2 separate regions of the Homo sapiens genome follow, and region 2 is linked to region 1. Evidence: promoter capture Hi-C in 16 types of primary human blood cells and fetal thymus (Javierre and others, 2016). All regions are on one chromosome and are shown on one strand. Each heading gives the region's core, a stretch centred on a gene start or on the middle of the fragment in contact. The rest is flanking DNA. Distances are from core to core; before and after follow the strand shown. Region 1 holds the start of MYBL1 (MYB proto-oncogene like 1). Region 2 overlaps DNAJC5B (DnaJ heat shock protein family (Hsp40) member C5 beta).

Region 1 (3,557 bases), core at 314-2,813:
CCAGTAAGGAATGATCTGGAAGAAACGCTTGGCCAGGTGTTGTGGCGCGCGCCTGTAGTCCCAGCTACTTTGGAGGCTGAGGCAAGAGGATCGCTGTTCGAGGCTACTGTAAGCTATGATTGTGCCACTGCACTCCAGCATGGGGAATAGAGTGAGACCTAGTCTCAAAAAAAAAACAACAAAAAAAAAAACAGGAGAGAAAAAGAAAAGCTGTTTTATCTTCCCTTACCTTCCCAGAATCTATACCTTGAAAAAAGGAACTGTTAAAAAAAAAAAAGCCAGTGTGTTTAGGTTTTGACAGCAGTGCATGCAAGCTTCTCTCTTAATTCAGCTCCTCTTAATTCACTCTGCACCTGCATCTGATTTGCAAAAGATGAAGCGTAAAATTTCAAAATAGCAAGTGTTTGTTACAGTGTTAACATGTGGCTCAGTGCTCTATGCAATAGACCATGTTGCCTTGCAAATTTTCCTTAGCCAAGTGTAATTGTTACTGTAGCAAATCTACTTTAATGCTACTTGAAATGAACAGTTCGTAGTTATTAGACTGGAACCTCAAGTAGCTGCAACCGCTAGAAACTCCTCCGGTGGTTCCCCCCTCCCTGGTCTCTCCAGAGGGAAGAAGGTCACCTTCTACACTTAACTACCATGCTCATTCATCTGGACGAAATGCCCAGTCCACTGTCTTCTTCACGCGTTATTCTCCAGGACAGGGCTCCTCCGCCGCGCACGTTATTTCCTGTAGAGCGGGCACGAAATTAAGCACCTTGAAGACCAGCGGTAGACACAGATTATCTCCGGTTCCAAGCACGTCTCCCGCTAGGAACTTTTTTCACTTGTCACTCTTCTGCTGCTTTTTGAGGAAAACAGGTGATATTTGGTTTCCTGCCAGAGTCTTCGTCACTCTCGTAACTATGATGTCTGGGTAAAAATAGCTCACATTTTTGCTTAAAAAATAACGGCCGCGCAAATTTATGGTTAGATTTGTCTCAAGTCTGAAGACCGCGCATCCTAACTAGTGAGGCGGAAGACACCTAAGGAGCCAGGAGCTGTCGCCGAGGCGAGGCTGCGGAGACGTTCCCTTGGTGGGCCGCGGGACCACCCACCCCGCCAGAAACTCGGTTCGCTCACCCTAAGAATTTTGGGGCAACTGGACTTCTCCACCGCCCGCTTCCGGACCCGCTCCGGCGCCGCTTCCGGACCCACTCCTCGGCGAGCGCAGGAACTCGCTCTCCCAGCAGGCCCCGCGCGGTGCGCCTCTCGGCGCGTTCCGGGTCCTATGACAGCTCGGCTCGCATGCGCCACCTACGGCCCCACCCGCGGCCCCACCCCCTGGCTCCCGGCTCCTTCCCCGACTCCCGCGAGTTCCAGTCCCAGCTTCCAGCTCCCCAGCCCCGCCCTCAGCCGCGCGCGCTCTCCCCTCCCCGCCCTCGCTTCTTCGCGTGCGGCCCCCACAGCCAATGAGGTTCAGGGCCGCGTGCGCAGATTCAAACGGCGGCTCTTGAGGGAGGCTGGGCGCGAGATTCGGCGGTGCGGACAAAACCCTGCAGGAGACTGCGAGCCCTGCAGAACTGCTAGCTGCGGGGGAGAGGGCAGGGGTCGGGCGCCTGTGGCGGAGCCGGGCTGGGGCCAGGGCAGGGAGGCTGACAAGCGGCGGGAGAAGCCGGCGGAGGGCGGGATCGCGCCTCCTGACATGTTGGGGGTATCCCTGGCCGGGCCGGGCCGGGGCTAAGAGCGGCGCTGCGGGCCGGGGTCGGGGTCGGGTCGCGGTCCGCCCCCGCTGTCCCTCCGTCCTGCCCTGTCGAGGACGTGCGTTCCGCACTCGGCCGCCTCCAGAGGGAGCGAGGGAAGCGGCTAGAGGATCGGGGAGAAGGAGCATTCGCCGGAGGCTGGAGGAGGCTGACCCGCGTCCCCGCCCAGCCTGCTCCTATGCGGTACTTGAAGGATGGCGAAGAGGTCGCGCAGGTGGGTGGCACCCCTTTCGCCCAGGCCTGTCGGCGCCGTCTCGGCTCAGATTCTCTTTCCTATCCCGCTGCCCCCTCCCGCCATAAGGCCCTCCCTGGCGAGGGCAGAGGTTTTTCTTCCCGCGTCCCCGCGGCCGCTTGGCCTCGATGACCGGAGGGCAGCTGCGACGTGTGGAGAGTTGGGGACCAGGGTGTTTGAGGCGCGGGACGTAAGAGATGCCCAGGTTTCTCGGTGACTCTCCCCGTAATGCGCGTCCAGATTTCTGACCTCATGCTGCCACTTCTTCGAGGCAGGTTTCTTGCCAGGTAAGTCGAGCGCTTTTAGGGAGTCCGCTACGCAGAGAAAACTGACTGTGTCCTGCCGGGAGGACTTGAAAATGGTGTTCGGGCGACTCTTTTCTGAATGACGGTACAGTCAAAATAGGAACTCCGCGGTGAACCTGGGCGGCCACCCCTCTGCCAACTTGGCTATCTTGAAACGTTGTGGAAAATCCTCTGGGGAATAGCTGAGAGGACTTTTTTGATGTTTTCTGTAATTCCTATACCCATATGCTCAGCTTTATGTATATATGTATATTTTAATATCCTCTCTTGGGACCATGTCACATAGTAACAACTAGTAGTAACAACTAGTAGCTTGATCTTGAAATAAAACAATGTGTTTGATTCACTTAATATTTTGAGTGTCTGTGTTTGGCTCTGACCGTACCTAAGTGTTCCACAGAGGTAAGGCACTTTTTTCCACCTTTGCCTGGAAAATGTGCTAGGATGAATTTATGCATCTAATTTTCGTTTACATGCCATTACAGCAGCTACTCATAAATTATGTGGAGTAATTGCTTAGATAACAAAAATATAGGATGTCTTCCGATTTTCAGCATTATCAAATAAACCTGAAAAGATGTTTGGCAGGATTTCCAAATATTTATTTATCTAGATCCACAGCCCCAAAATCTTAACTAGAGATGTATTTCCTAAGTTGAAATTTAGTAATGGGGGTCATTCATTGCAGAGTTCTGCTAAAAATTGGCAGTAACTATACATAATTGTTTTTTCCTTAGTTTTCTGTTAAGCATCTGCTGTGTGCAGGATGCTTCTGCAGAAATCCTTAAGTCTCTGTAAGCTTATTAGTTTTGAAGTAAGTTATAGGACAAACTCTTGAGATGAAATAAATGTGTACACAGACCCCTCTAAAACTGTTTTCAGCCTTTGCACTATTGACATCTTGGACCAGATAATTCTTTGTAATGGGGAGATGTTTAGCAGCATCGCTGGCTTCTACCCAGTAGAGATAGTAACACTCCACTTCCCTCAGTCATGACAGTAAAAATGTCTCCAGACATTGCCAAATATCTTTTGGGGGACAAAATCACCCAGGAAAGAACCACCCTTCTAGAACTTCAAGGACCCAATTAACATCAATCTTCAGAAAAGATAGATATTTAAAGCTCTTGTAATTATGATTGCCGAAGTACTGGTTTAGGCTTTTTGAATTTTTAAATATAAAAAAATTTAAAAATAAGATGACAATTGAATATGTTAACTCAATAACAAGTTTATTAATGTGTGATATTATCTACTTATCAGTATTGATGT
Region 2 (3,398 bases), core at 633-3,132, 510 kb after region 1:
GGGAAGGGGAAGGAGTGGGAGTGAAGTAAGAGATATAGGAAGCCTTCAGATTTGCTCTTGAGGAAGTCACAGGGAATTAACAAGGAAGATTTCTTAGGGGAATCTCCTTGAGCTGCAAAGGGCAGTTGAAGAGAAAGGTAGTTAATAAAGGGAGTGACACAGTGAGTATATTCTCTTGAAAGTCAGAGAACTCTGGGAAAGAGTTGGATGGGGAGTGGGGAAGAGACTAGGATTCATGTTCAAGAACAAATGTAGTTGGAAACACAAGGTCATCCTGGAGAGGCTATATAGTGCAGCTGTTAATATTGTGGCCTCAGGACCAGCCTGCTCTACTCCATAGCTAGGTGTTCTTAGCCAAGTTACTTATCTTTTCTGTGTTCCAGTTACATAGTCTAGAAAATGACAGATGATGATGGTGACAGTACTTCTCTCACAGGTTGTTGTATTAAATGAATCAATATAAAGCTCTTAGGGCAGTGTCAGGTACTAAGCACTACGACTCTTGGTTATTATTCTCTTAGAAATTTTATTTTTAATTTGTGAAAGAATAAATCATCTTTCTCAAATACAAGTAAATGCACTTATGAGCCTAAGGCCAACACTTTCAAATCCTCTATTTTGGGGGATGGGATGCTAAGGGAAGAGGTAAAAGAGAGAGCTAAGAAATGCAGAATGTGAGTAGGAAGGTAACTCATTTTATTTTGTTAAAACTTTACCCTTTGACTCAGAATAACATGTATCTTTCAAGTTTTGGTAGCTGATTTTCTAGTATGTTACACATTGATTTAAAAAAATAATTTCCATGCCAAATACAATAAAAACTTTTTTGAAATGAAGGCATTTTATATAAAACTATTATGCTAATAAGTTAATCAATGTAGCCGGGCACGGTTGTTCACACCTGTAATCCCAGCACTTTGGGAAGCCTAGGCGGGTAGATCACCTGAGGTCAGGAGTTCGAGATCAGCCTGGCCAACATGGTGAAACCCTGTCTCTACTAAAAATACAAAAATTAGCTGGGTGTGGTGGCACGTGACTGTAGTCTCAGCTACTCGGGAGACTGAGGCACAAGAATTGCTTGAACCCAGGAGGCAGAGATTGCAGTGAGACTCTGTCTCAAAAAAATAATAATAATAAGTTAATTAATGTATAGACAGTTTTTTCATTCTAGATATAGAATGTCGCTTATTCTAAAAGAATTGAGATATATATGTGTGTGTGTGTGTGTTTTGGTAAAGAAAAATGCACATGTATTTTTTTATTATGTTCTACTGTAAGACAGCAAAAAAATAAATGGATGACTCATGGAACTTTTTAAGAAGTCTCCTATTCCAGTAGCACAGTGCCCAGGAGAGGTGGTGAGCTGTTGACACGGGCTGTTCATTGGACTCTGTGTGACCACTGATGAGGCTCACGCTCAGCATTTCTCTTCTTGCCTTGAAGCTTCCCTGCTAAGGGAAGACTTCTTGTGGGTTCAGAATGACTGCCAGTGCTTCTTGGATAGCACTTCTGTAGACCCCCACAATATACTTCAGCAGCTCCTCCTCTGATGAAGAGTGGATTCTTGTATCTCTGTAGCTGAAGGAGTATTCTGCAGAATTCATTCCCTCATTCATAGGTATTCAAGTGTTTGCATTTGTCACACATCATTGTAACCAGAAACTAGCCCTTTGTGAGGAACATTGGCCAGAACCCCTCTAGCAATTTGATTCTACCATCTGATTCTGATTCTGATCCATGTCCTGTTCTCATCTTAACCACTCTTGGACCAGCTTCCTGGGGAACTAGGAGTGGAAGCAAAAAATTCCATGTGAGAAAGGAAAATGAGGTCTGGGCAAGAAAGAGAAGGTGAGCTTTGTAATTTGTAAGTTGCTTTTCAAAATAGACCTGACCTTTTGCTTAAAAAGGCCACAGGAAGGAAATGGAATGGCTCAAATTATCCACAGATTGCGCTATTTATCCTATTGTTTCCTCCAAATGGAAAGTAGCATTTGTTTGTTGAATACAGCGTTCCAAGCACTTGCTGGTTACTGGAGCTGTTAATACTGGGTGTCTCCATGGGTCTTGTTGGGTGAGAGAGTTTATATGCATCAAGAGTCATAGTACATTTGTCTGTGTGCGTCAACATATACAAATTCATTTAAAACCACCTTACATTTGTTGAACATTTGACTTTTCAGATTTCTTTCACTTCAGCCATTTTATCTGGTCATCCAGCAACTTGGAAGGTGGTCAGGGCAGATATGAAAACAGAGCCATAGAGAGATTAGCCATGTTATTTTCATCTCACTTGGTCACAAGGCTAGTTAATGAAAGCTTAGATTAGAACCAGGTTTCTTAGCTTTCAAACCAAGGCTCTGTCTACTTGATTGCCTAGAAAAAGAATTTCAGTAACTAAAGAGTTAGAGTGGAATTTTAATGACCTCAGAACTATCAGAGCTATAACACTAATTCTCACTTACAATATATATTTAGCAGCAATTAACTATAATTTTTTGGGTGGGAATAAGAAACAAGAAAAAAGATAAAGGCATTTTATACAATATTATATAAAAACATAACAAGATCTTGAAAATGCAATATTATATAAAAAAGTAAGAAAGAGCTAGAAAAACGAACACTTTTTCTGCCATAGTATTTTAGAAATAGCACATGGTTTCTACCACATAATAAATACAAGAATCAAACAAGCAAATGCAGAGATGACCTCTGGGCTTAAATTGTGTAACATGCACAGAGCTGAGCAATTTCTGGTCAAGGCAACTAATTTTAACAAAAATGAGGTGATACATGTTTTGGTGTAAATTTAGGCTCTAGAGTATAGAGTTCTACCCCTTCATCTGTTTTTTTTCCCTTAGTCTGGCTAATCTGAGCCAGTTATACAAAAATTATTTTACTAGAAAATGATCAACATGCTGATGGGGCGGGTTCAGGCTCAGAATGATTTTCTGGTTCACTTACAACATTTAACCAGGTTGAAGTTTTGTTTTGTTTTGTTTTTAAGCCAATCTAAAAGTACACACAAAACCTGTTTCTTCCTGGTTTCCAGTTTTCAGTAAATGCCAATTTTTAATGTTCCAAAAATATACCTTAAAAATGTGATTTAAAAAAAAATCATCCCTTTCTGGCTCTTGAAACATTTCTATAACTTTATTGAATATTGACACGGAAGAGGCTCCACACACAAAAACTCTTTATAAGTTCTCATATATTTTGATGATCATGTTCGTGGTAGATATGAATATTGTGTTAAATGTAAGAAAAGTGGCTTTTGTTCTGGAATATTACTTTGGTCAGTTAGGAATCAGATCTGCCACACATAAAGGGCAGGTTCATAAAGGCTGTACAATTCCACTGTCCTACATCAGGCAAGGAGGGTAAAATAACTCTTCAGGCCT

Evidence for each region. Contacts are between HindIII fragments. The CHiCAGO score rates a contact against its expected background, and 5 or more counts as called.
Region 2: a fragment that was not itself captured here is called in contact with the fragment with the promoter of MYBL1 in region 1 in 2 of 17 cell types (M0 macrophages and monocytes); the score reaches 6.1 in M0 macrophages.

Annotation. Positions count from the first base shown.
Region 1 is chr8:66,611,224-66,614,780 of GRCh38, reverse strand. MYBL1 (MYB proto-oncogene like 1) reads left to right here and starts at 1,563. Exons shown (of 16, transcript NM_001080416.4): 1 at 1,563-1,962. The coding sequence starts at 1,943. LOC105375884 (a long non-coding RNA gene) reads right to left here and starts at 1,232. Exons shown (of 2, transcript XR_929015.3): 1 at 1,129-1,232; 2 at 1-736. RefSeq lists enhancers at 717-766, 777-856, 907-1,046 and a silencer at 1,277-1,796. The HindIII fragment of the contact is 2,770 bases long and covers 317-3,086 here.
Region 2 is chr8:66,100,250-66,103,647 of GRCh38, reverse strand. DNAJC5B (DnaJ heat shock protein family (Hsp40) member C5 beta) reads right to left here. Exons shown (of 6, transcript NM_033105.6): 6 at 2,403-3,398. Among named protein-coding and RNA genes, the nearest start is that of TRY-GTA5-1, 11 kb to the left of the region's middle. The HindIII fragment of the contact is 873 bases long and covers 1,446-2,318 here.